Regions from separate parts of the Homo sapiens genome. Here region 1 is linked to region 2. The links are contacts of gene promoters, found by promoter capture Hi-C in blood cells and fetal thymus (Javierre and others, 2016). All regions are on one chromosome and are shown on one strand. Each heading gives the region's core, a stretch centred on a gene start or on the middle of the fragment in contact. The rest is flanking DNA. Distances are from core to core; before and after follow the strand shown.

Region 1 (5,543 bases), core at 2,739-5,238, 91 kb after region 2:
ATCCAGTCTTACCAAACTTGTCTGCTCCACATCGGAAGCATTTTAGTCTTTTCCTGAAATTGTTAAGGCAGCACTGAAAAAAAAAGTTTTATCTGTAATTATTTCTCACATTAGGCCAGGCTTTCTAGTAACAATAACAGTGGGGCCACGGGTAGGTCCCAGTAACTAACAGAAAAGCAGAAAGTCTCACGTAGCTGAGACATGGGGACATAACCTAAAAAATTCAGAATGTAACACTGTTAAAATCTCCCAAGAAAAACAAAGTTTGTTGTATGTTGAAGAAGAATCCCATTATTATCAAGCCGAGGAAAGGGTTCAGTTAATTTGAAAACTCTACAGCAAGCCACTGGTGAAGCTCTTCCTTGTATCAACAGAGCACTATACATCCCATCCTACATACACAAACACAAGGTAAACTAACCACTGTCTAGTCCCCTACTGGACAGGGGACACAGTTTGAGCACTCTCAAAATATCAATGTCAACATTCAAGTTCAAAATGGTAAACCTTATATAACTTTAGCAGGGTTCTCAACTATTTTGGTTAATACAGTTAAGAGACTACGCCAAAAACTGAGAGCTCTAGAATTCAATAAACAGTAACATGAAACACACCTAAAATCTTAATCACTGGGCTTAGAACCTGCATCCTTTTTGTTGTCCTTTTTTGTTTTTTGAGACAGAGTCTCACTCTGTCACCCAGGCTAGAGTGCAGTGGCGCGATCTTGGCTCATTGCAACCTCTGCCTCCCGTGTTCAAGAGATTTTCCTGCCTCAACCTCCGAGTAGCTGGGATTACAGGCGCGCACCGTGATGCCCAGCTAATTTTTGTATTTTTAGTAGAGACGGGGTTTTGCCATGTTGGCCAGGCTGGTCTCTAACCCCTGGCCTCAAGCTATCTACCCGCCTTGGCCTCCCAAAGTGCTGGGATTACAGGCGTGAGCCACCATGCCCAGCAGAACGTGCATCTTAATAAACGAAACCTCTAGTTCTATCATCTAATACCAGTGTAGGAGGACCCAAGGAAAGTAACAAACCATGAATATTACTGATGATTGAGTAACAATTTCCTTGTTTGGACAGTCAAATAAACAAACAGAAAAAAACAGCAATATCCTAAAGGAGTTTTGTCTATTTGGGAAGAACATATGCTTACCTTGTTACAAAGCCAATCTTCAAACTTAGGTCTGGGATTGCTATAATGCATTGCAATGTGCTTTCCTTGAATCACCAACTTTTTCTGTAAGAAAAGAAGTAATTAGTTATTCCCATTGTGAGGAACATGTGTCCATTTTCCCAGGGCAGAGCACACTTCGGAAAAATCAGTGCTCTGGAATTAAATGGACAACATACGGGGAGGACCAACCACCGCCACCTATACTCTGCCCATCCAATCCTTCAGATAGGCAGTAAGAGAATGGGATGCGGAGTAAAGGTAAACGGAGTCAGGGAGTGCTGAGAAAGCTGTCAAACACTAAACGCTGACTTGCACCAGGCCGTGTCTCCAGCGGAGACAGAAGTCCTAACATTCAGCATTGACAGGCTGCCTGAGTGTGACAGTCTACTTCAAAAAGCAGAAGACACAATTCTCTCAGTTCTGAGACTGTCTCTTACTTTTGCCCTTAGCATGGTGTCCTTGGGCTTCGCTTCACCTTTTTCCCCAGTCCCCCATCCTTATGCAAAGTAAAAGCCTTTACATTTCTCCTTCCCCCCACACCTTCTGCTTCAGGATGAGTCCTTTGGGGGGAAAGGGAGGGGAACTCATTTTTAAAGGGAATCTGGTTACAATTCTTTCTCAAGAGGGACTATTCTGAATGCCACCAACTCTAAAACAACTAAATGAGATTTTTTTTTTCCTGTCAACTGCAACCATGTCATGTCCTAGGTGACAGATGTGTTTTTCACTAAAATGGATGGTACTCTCTTCAAGGTGAGTAACCAGGAGGCCAATGAAGTTTCTTCAGGGGGGTAGGAAAAGCTCATAAATGCACACACCACCTCATCCTTCAAGTCAACCATGTGACTACAAGGACTTAGCTTTAAAAAGTCAAAATTCTGAGCTGAATCAATCTAGCCAAGAGTATACCTAGCACCTACCCCTAAAGAGCCTTCATTTAACAGGAGCATCTTTTCTTTTTCTTGGGGGTGGGAGGATCAAGGGTGGGGGTGGTTTGACACTATCAAACAGATTTAAGTAGGTGGTTAGATATCCAGATTTTAAAAAGGAGTCTAACCCCTCTAAACATACATACTGTTGAGCAATTTGGTTCTTGCAAATCCTGGAAGATTTAAGACATGCTGTGAATTTTGTCTCTGCGATATCTAAAGGCAAGACTGCATGTCTGGCCAGGAGAGAAAAAGCTGAAGGGCCATCCACTCACTGTGATATACAGAAGCAAAAATAAAAAAGCTGGGAGATATGTGAATAGATCATCCCACTAGGAGGGATGTGTGCTGGGAGACTCCAAACTACCAGTGAGTCCCTAATCCTACTGGCCTTTTATTTCTGGAGTGAATTTGAACTGTAATGTGTTACACAGTAACATAGCTTTGTATACATTAAAATTGTGGAGACTTTTAAATGTCTTACAGGTTTTAGTTTCTTAGGAGTTTTAAACTCCTAGGTTAGTCATTCTGACATATCCACTGCATCAAACAATGCTATCATGTCAAGAAAGCAGACTCACATGAACCTTGTATATGTTCTGGATTTACTAGGATGGTATCTATGGTATGAAATGAATGAAGCTCTACTTTTAATAAAATCAGGCTGTGATTTCTGGGTTAGGAAAATGAGAGGCTTAAAAACTTTAACAAATCAGTCAGTCAAAGTGATACCCTCATTAGTGAGTCTTGTTATAAATGGCAATATTACCAATCAAAGAATGTAACTTTTATTCATGGATTCATGGATGACTCAAATCACAGAATGCTGCAGAAAAGCAAGATAATGAGTCAAGCAAACTTCCCAGAATGCACTTGGTTAAAGGCATTCAATAATGTGCCTTGGAGTTCTTGCAAAAAATGTTATTTAAGTGCCAAGCACTGAACATTATCTTGACAAACTGAAGAACACTTCAGTTAACACTACCTCGAAGAACCATCAATGACTTGCTTTGAACAGACTATAAAAGGCATTCTCAAGGAGATTAGAATGTTAATGCCACTCTAACTAGATTAGACAGCTGCAGGACACCACTCCCAGGCTAATCTCATCAGACTTATTGTTCATAAATTCCACTAAGTCCTTAAATATTCCCTGAAGACCGGTCTGAGCAGTTACGCCTCCAGGAGGCTTTGTGGTCTTCAGGCAGAAATAAGGAATTACTTATAAAAATGCCGCCACAGACTTTCACTATGTTCTCTTCACTGTCAAATGGAGAGTTTGATATACTAAGCTTACTCTCAATGGACATAATAGGAATATAACAAACTAGAAAAAAGGGAAACATTAAGATGTTTTAGTGATTACCAGACAGGTATTCAGTAGTTAACAAAGCCCTGCCAGGTAGGTAGCCATGTTTAAAGGCAGAACAAATTCTATAATGAAGTCCTTGGTACTGTACTTATTCTAGTAACATCAATTTTAATATATACAAAGCTTTTTTTTTAAAAAAAAGTCACTCCTTTGGAACAAACCACTCCTTCAACCTTTTTTTAAAATTGTACAGACTTGTTCCATTTTCATGAATATCTAGACTTGGTGAGTGAAGCAACCTGATTGGCTTCCATCCAGCTGGTAGCATCTTGCAAGTGATAAAACTCCACGAAGGCGAAACCACGGCTTACACCTAGAGACAGCATTCAGATATAGACGGGATACTTGTGTTAGTCAGTTCCTTTATAACAGGTGAATCTCTCTCCCACTGCTTCAACACTGCGTGACAAAGCCAATTGGGAAGCAGCTTTACAAATGTGACTTGACTTGGGGATCTTCTTGATACTTTGCCATGGCAAGGAACAAGCCGCCTGAACTAAATGCCACTCCATTTGATTCCACGCTTAAAGTAACCATGCAACCGACTATAGTCAAAAAAAAAAAGGAGTTTATAAATCATTACTTACCTAAGGAAAAAAAAGTCCCTAAAACAAAGTTTAAAAAAGTTCCTCAGATGCTAACATGGTTTTCAAAGAGTCACATTCCTTAGCCATGGCAAACCTTTCATTCTGAATTCATGTGCTTGAAGACTGGGGGAATCAGGATGTTCTTTAGGGACTGAGGTGGGAATGGGGAAGAGAACAATAATATCAGGAACTAAGCAAGCTCTCACCTGTTTTCCTCTTCATCAGCCTCACATCCGCAGGCTGAGGGCCTTCGAAGGACTCCATCATTTCTCGAATCTGCACAGGGTTTTACATTATTTACAGTTAAAGCTTTTGCCACACACTATTCCCCATGGAATAGGAATTACATCAACTGTTTAATTAGCCAAGTTTTTTTTTTTTTTAAGATGGGAGTCTCTGTCTCTCACTCACTTGATTGCCCAGGCTGGAGTGCAGTGGCATGATCTCAGCTCACTGCAACCACCACCTCCTGGGTTCAAGCAATTCTCCTGCCTCAGCCTCCCGAGTAGCTGGGATTATAGGTGTGCACCACCATGCGTGACTGATTTTTTTTTTTTTTTGAGACGGAGTCTCGCTCTGTCACCCAGGCTGGAGTACAGTGACGTGATCTCGGCTCACTTCAACCTCCACCTCCTGGATTCAAGCGATTCTTCTGCCTCAGCCTCCCAGGTAGCTGGGATTACAGGCATCCACCACCACATCCAGCTAATTTTTGTATTTTTAGTAGAGACGGGGTTTCACTGTGTTGGACAGGCTAGTCTCGAACTCCTGGCCTCAAGTGATATGCCAGCCTCCCATATCATTACATGCATGACCCACCATGCCTGGCCTAATTAGCCAAGTTTTTATCTTCTATCACCAAAATGCAATTTTCCTAAAAGGCACAAAAAAGAGAGAACATTTCTCATAGAAATTAATGCATTATAACAGCACTGAAGGCATTCATTAAATGTTGCATGGGAATTTCCCTCAGGTGTAATTAATTTTTCCTTTTTTTTTTTTGAGACAGGGCCTAGCTCTGACACCCAGGCTGAAGTGCACTGGTGTGATCTCAGCTCACTGCAACCTCTGCCTTCCTGGACTCAAGTGATCCTCCCACCTCAGCCTCCTAAGTAGCTGGGACTACAAATGCACACCACCACACCTGGTTAATTTTTGTATTTTTTGTAGAGACAGAGTTTTGCCACGTTGCCCAGGCTGGTCTGGAACTCCTGGGCTCAAGCGATCCGGCCACCTTGGCCTCCCAAAGTGCTAGGATTACAGGAGTGAGCCACAATGCCTGGCCGCAATTAATTTCTGTTATGATACACATCCTTGCTTGTGGTATGATGTCTCAAGCCTCCATCCTTTAGTCTAATCTCCCTGTCCTTTGTTCTGCAGGATAGTACAGTGGCTCAAGCCTATAATCCTAGCGCTTTGGGAAGATGAGGCAAGATGAGCGCTTGAGCACAGGAGTGTGAGACCAGCCTGGGGAACACAG
Region 2 (5,950 bases), core at 2,227-4,726:
AGCTGGGGTGGGGCCTGGAGGCAGTAGGCTCCAGGATTTGGGGGTGAGGCTCCAGGGCCGTGGTGTGGGGTGGGGAGCTGGACGGGGCTGGGGTATTGAGGCAAGAGCCTGGAGAGGGCAGCGACCTACCTCAGAAGAGGCCACAGTCTTTGAGGTTCTCCTTGATGATGATGTCGGTGACAGCGTCGAAGACAAATTTGACGTTCTGCGTGTCGGTGGCGCACGTCATGTGGGAATAGATCTCCTTCACGTCGCGCCGCATGTTGAGCTCGAGGAACTGCACCTTGATGTAGTTGCCGGCGTCCTCGTAGGTGTTGGGTCCTGCGGGGGCGGGAGCTCTCACTCTGCTCAGCCCTTCCTTCCCCGTGCGGGGGGTGCGCGCCGCGATCGTGGGGCGGGGGCGCCGCCTGGCGGCCTTGCGGACTTCTCACCATCGTAGTCCGGGAAACAGATGCTGAGGTGCGCCTTCTTGATCTTCTCGAAGAAGACGTCCTTCTTGTTAAGGAAGAGCACGATGGACGTCGTGGCGAAGTAGCGGTGGTTGCAGATGCTGTTGAACAGGTGCAGGCTCTCGTGCATGCGGTTCTGAGGAGGGCAGCAGCTGTTGGGCACCCGGGGTAGCGTCCGACCCGCAGCACCTGCTCTCTGGGCTCCCGGGCACGCGGGGCTTCCCGCTCAGCTGGCTCTCAGAGGGCTCCCCGCACTGCCCCAGATGGGCCTGCTGAACGCCTCCGGGCCTCCTCAGGCCGCCCGGGACAGGCATCCCCTCCCGTGCCCTCCCCCAGCCCAGCGCGCGGTCTCCGCCTCCAGGGACCAGCAGCTCCTCCTCGCCCCCCTGGAACACAGGCCCTGCCTGGCACGCACCACTTCGTCGTCCTCCACTAGCACCATGTCGTAGGCGCTCAGCGCCGCGATGAAGATGATGCAGGTCACGCCCTCGAAGCAGTGGATCCACTTCTTGCGCTCCGAGCGCTGCCCGCCCACATCGAACATCCTGCGGGGCCGCGGGGGCCTGAACCTGCGCCCCGGGCCCCACAGGCAACATCCCTTCGCCCTGTGCTGGTCGGGGAGCTCTCGGCCGGGACTACCACCCTTTCTGCTGGCGGGGTATCAGGGAAGGGGCAGGGTCTATCGCAGGGATGGGGTCCCCGGGGCAGGACGGGGCCTGGGGCAGTGACCTCCTGGGCTAGCGTATGGGTCGTACCGGAAGTTGAGATCCTTGAAGGAGAACTGCGTCTCGATGATGCCAGTGGTCTTGACTCGCGAGCGCAGCACGTCCTGCTCGGTGGGCACGTAGCCCGGGGTTACCAGGCGCTCCAGGTCGGAGAGGTAGCTGCGCGAGACCCGGCCGTAGGTGGGTGGGGAGGCGTGGAGGGCCCCCTGCGCCCCGCGCCCCGCGCCCCGCGCTGCCCGCGCGCTCACTAGCCCGCCGAGTCGTTGAGCTGGTACTCCGAGGCGCGCTCAAAACAGGCCTGGATACCGGAGTCCTTCCACAGCCGCTGGATGATGTCCGACATCTCCTTGGGCATCGTGCCCTCCTCGATAGTGTCTGCCATGTGCATCAGCTTCCGGGCGTCGTCCTGGGGGCAGGGTGAGAGTGGCTGGTGGCGGCCAGGGACTCGGGCCCAGCCGCGAGCCTCGAGTCCCCAGAGGCCCGCTCAGCCCGCCTCCTGGCACACCTGGCGTGCAGAGTCTCCGTACTGGATGTTGAGTGTGGTCATGGCGCGTACGATGGCCAGGATGGACTGCAACGTGTTGCCGTAGATGATGGCGATAAACTCGAGGCACTCTTCCAGCGAGTACCCGTCCTGGTGGATAATCCTGAGGCCGAGGAGAGCAGAATCAGCGCCTCGTGGGGAAGTGGGGAAGGACCCAGACCCAGGGGCCTCGGGACAGGCAGGGGCACTCACTTCATCTGCTTGACGATGGTGCTCTTCCCGGACTCACCGGCACCTGAAAGAGACGCGGCGCCTCAGAGCTGCGCTGACCAGCCTGCCCCCTCCAGCAAGGAGGCCAGGAGGACGGGGACCTCCCGAGTTGGCAGGGTGGACCCGCAGCGAAGAGGCCTGAGCGCCAGCCCCGACCCCGTAGCCACACCTACCCCCCCATCCAAATTAAGTCCTGACATCCTGAAGTCACAAGGTTTGCAAATGCCAGGAAAGTGAAGAAAGGAAGCCAACGAGGGGACTCAACGACCTCAACTGTTCTGGGACAGGGGAGTCCCCAAGACCCCGGCACAGGCAGCCTTTATTATGCTGTGAGACTGCAATGAAGAAATCCCGGAGCGTCATCGCCACCTCGTGGGAGCCTCTGGTACCGCAAGCACTGGGTTATTTGAGGCGGGTAAACCCCTTGCATTTCACCTGAAGGGGTGCAGGTGTCTCCAGGAGGCTCAGAGGGAATTAGCTCTTTTGGGTAGGAGGGAGGGCAGAGTTGACATCCTTTCTGAGCTTGCCCCTGCGAGGGCGTTGGGCACAGTTAATGAGATTTCCGGCTTAGCCTCTCTGCCTTGGGGGAAAGTGGGACTGGCTTGGTCCCTCACCCACCTCCAGCTGGTTGACCAGACCCTGGGGAGCTTGGGTGGAGCCCCTCTTGAAGCTGCTTTTTCCCCTTGAGAGGTCAGGCAGTGACCTTGAGGCAGGCCTGGATCAGCCCCATCTCTCCTCAGTGCCCATGGTCCAGTGGACGCGGCTTTATCTACTCCCACTGGGCCTCAGTACCCGCCAGCCCCTCTGGCTGCTTTGTAGGTCTATCAGCCACAGCCCTCTGGCACCTGAGGGCCATTCGTTGTGGATCTGGGTGGTCCTAGAGGCTCCCCACTCCCAGGAGGACTATGGCCATCCCCTTCCCAAAGTAGCAGCCCAATAACGGGCTCCCAGTGAGGCTCCTGGCTTCTGAGCATTGCCTAGCAGGCGTATCAAACCAAAGGCTGCATGAAGCTTGCGGGAACCCAGCCACGGAAAAGTCGGCATCACACACCCGTGCAAGAGTGTGGTTGGCACGCACTTCTGGGGAGGGTGGGTCACCTGAGGCAGAGCCGTCTGGAGAGGGGCTTTGTGGGATGTCCAGCCCTGGGGGACTAGGACACCACCTGTCAGGCCTGGCCTTGCTTGGCCAGGGCTCCCACCCTGTGCCCTACTCTGTCACAGGCTCATACTGCTTCCCAGGGAATCCTTGCTTCACAGAAGGGCTGCCTGCCTGCCTCCAGACCAATGACCTGGTGGCAGTGGCCCCACCTGGGCCCACACCCCTACCCAGAAGCAGCAGCTTCACGGTTCGAGCATCCTTCTCAGCGTCCTCTTTCAGCTTCTTTTCCAGCTCCCTGGAGTGCTTCTCCTCAGCACTGGCCCCAGCCCCCATGGTCCCAGCAGCAGGCGAAGGGACAGAGTGAGCAGGTGGTTCTTCTGGATGGAGGGGATCCCCAGAACCTGGCCTCCCAGGCACCCTTCTGGCCCCAGGAGGACCTGCAATCAACTGGCTCTCTACGGACCTGTGCAATCCCTGGTGGGGCTGCTTAGTGGGATTTGGGGGCTAGGGGTGTCCAAGAGCCAATCAGAGACAAGGACAGGTGAATCCAGCTCAGCCCCCCCAACCCTTCTAATCGGGCTGGCATAGCCCCAATCCCTCAACCGCTGACTCTGCACTCCGGCTGTCCTTCTGTCCCCGCAACCCTCCAGGAGAGGCCCTGGCACTGCCTGGGAGTGGGGAGACATGTTCAGTAGGGTCAGGGCTGAGAAAGGGGAAGGCAGAACCTTGAGCCCTGGGGGTGAGGACAATGGAGGTGGGGCTGGCAGTGAGAGGGCATAATTGGGAGAAACATGCCTGCTGCCTGCCCGGCACCAGGCTCAGCACCACTCCTTATCTTGTTGTAAGCTCACACTGGCCCTGGAGTATGGATGCCCATATCATCAGCCTCATTTTACTGATGAGGAAGTAAAGGCTGAAAGGGTCACACAGTAGGAAGTGGTTAAGAAGGGCTGGTGACTCTGGACTGGGATTTTATGACCTGCAGGGAATCCAGAGAGAGGGAAACAGTGGGCATTGCATTCATCCCATATCACAGGCTGGAGCTGCCCCAAGGAGGTCCTCTGCTTCCAGCGGACTGTGGTGGGCATGCATATCTGCTCTGTGTGCCTCGGTGTATGTGTCTTTTTTTTTTTTTTTTCTGAGATGGAGTCTCGCTCTGTTGCTCAGGCTGGAGTGCAGTGGCGCAATCTCAGCTCACTGCAAGCTCCACCTCCCAGGTTCACGCCATTCTCCTGCCTCAGCCTCCTGAGTAGCTGGGACAACAGGTGCCCGCCACTACGTCGGGCTACTTTTTTTGTATTTTAGTAAAGACAGGGTTTCACCGTGTTAGCCAGGATGGTCTCAGTCTCCTGACCTCGTGATCTGCCCGCCTCGGCCTCCCAAAGTGCTGGGATTACAGGCATGAGCCACCGTGCCTGGCCTTTTTTTTTTTTTTTTTTTTTTTTTTTTGAGACAGAGTTTCACTCTGTTGCCAGGCTTGAGTGCTGTGACACGATCTTGGCTCACTGCAACCTTCAACTCCCTGGTTTAAGCTTCTCCCACCTCAGCCTCCCAAGTAGCTGGGATTACGGGCATGTGCCACCATACCCAGCTAATTTTTTGTGTATTTTTAGTAGAGACGGGGTTTCACCATGTTGGTCAGGATGGTCTCGATCTCCTGACCTTGTGATCCACCCACCTCGGCCTCCCAAAGTGCTGGGATTCAGGTGTGAGCCACCTCGCCCGGCCATGGGTGTGTCTTTTGCTGGCACCAAGCGAGCAATAACTTGACACATTTGTGCATGAATACCTGTGTGTACATGTGTGCCTGCATGTTTATGCCTTTGTGAGTGCATGTGCTCTTATAGGAATCACGTGCCTGTGCGCATGCTTATGTATGTGTGCACATGTATACACATGTGTATGCATGTGTGAATATGCTTTGTGTATTCTCTTCATGCACACATAGGCTTGTGTGTTTTGCAGTTTGTGTAGGTTTGCATGTGTGCACTTGCTTATACGCAGGGGTGTAAACATGCCTGTTTGTACCTGAGCATATGTGTGCCTGTGCATGTCCATCTCTGCCTGTGTATGACTGTGTGTGTGCATGCATGCTTGCAGGCGCCTGTGCCTATATGTACACTTGAATTTGGGTGCAACAAAGTCTCTAATCTGCAGAAGTGGCCAGGCTCTTCCAGAGAATGTTTTGCAGGCCTGTTGCCAGGTGGAGAAATTGCATCCCAGAGCAGGTGTAGTGTTCCCTGGGGTATGGAGGAATGGGGCTCACCTATCCTGCTCCTGCTCTGTCTGCTGTGGGTGCTCTGAGGCCTGCCTAAGATTATCTCCAGGGCCTGCCTGCCTCAGCTTAGGGGGTCTGGTGCTCTGTTCAGGTGCAGGGCTCACTGCCGGGCAGAAATTGTTCAGGTTGAGCTCCCAGGTTCTAGAGACTTCCCACCCTCAACTTCCATAGGAAAACCCAAATCTTGGGCTCTCAAAGGCTCCTCCAGGCACCCTGAGCCTCCTGGCTGGACTCTTCCCTGGAACCTGGCTGCCTTTCAGCACTCAACTCTGCCACAGACTCAAGAGACCACAAGGGGGTGCCGGGGCACCAGACACTGAGCACTAACGGCTGTCTCTAAATAGTATGCGTGGGAAGTGAATGCTGGCTCCTACCACAGGCTGGCAGCTTCTACACCCACCCTGTTGGATGATGGGGATCTGTCCAGGAGTGAGGCCGTTGCATTTCTGCCACTTTCAGCCTTCAGGCTCCACCCACCCTCCCTGACCCTGAGGAGTGAGTGGGCCCTGAGGGGTCTCTACAGCCCTTCGCACTACCCAAGTGTTTGGGGTGGTGCAGCAGCCCAGGTTTGTCAAACTAAATGTGGTTTCTACATGTTGGGTTTCTTTAAATGGAGCCAATCTACTCCCTTCCCAGCCCCCCACC

The links. The method cuts DNA at HindIII sites, captures the fragments that hold promoters and counts their contacts. A CHiCAGO score of 5 or more calls a contact.
Region 1: a contact is called between a fragment that was not itself captured here and the fragment with the promoter of GNAT1 in region 2, in 1 of 17 cell types (endothelial precursors). The highest score is 5.7, in endothelial precursors.

What each region holds. Positions count from the first base shown.
Region 1 is chr3:50,098,778-50,104,320 of GRCh38, reverse strand. RBM5 (RNA binding motif protein 5) reads right to left here. Exons shown (of 25, transcript NM_005778.4): 5 at 4,270-4,339; 6 at 3,716-3,789; 7 at 1,155-1,238; 8 at 13-73. RBM5-AS1 (RBM5 antisense RNA 1) reads left to right here and starts at 3,333. Exons shown (of 1, transcript NR_045388.1): 1 at 3,333-4,718. RefSeq lists a silencer at 3,678-3,878. The HindIII fragment of the contact is 773 bases long and covers 3,602-4,374 here.
Region 2 is chr3:50,189,136-50,195,085 of GRCh38, reverse strand. GNAT1 (G protein subunit alpha transducin 1) reads right to left here and starts at 3,476. Exons shown (of 9, transcript NM_144499.3): 1 at 3,255-3,476; 2 at 1,911-1,953; 3 at 1,680-1,821; 4 at 1,423-1,580; 5 at 1,205-1,333; 6 at 865-994; 7 at 432-585; 8 at 130-321. The coding sequence starts at 3,360. The coding sequence ends at 131. RefSeq lists enhancers at 1-118, 171-686, 675-734, 687-1,203, 1,204-1,720 and a silencer at 305-364. The HindIII fragment of the contact is 1,620 bases long and covers 2,942-4,561 here.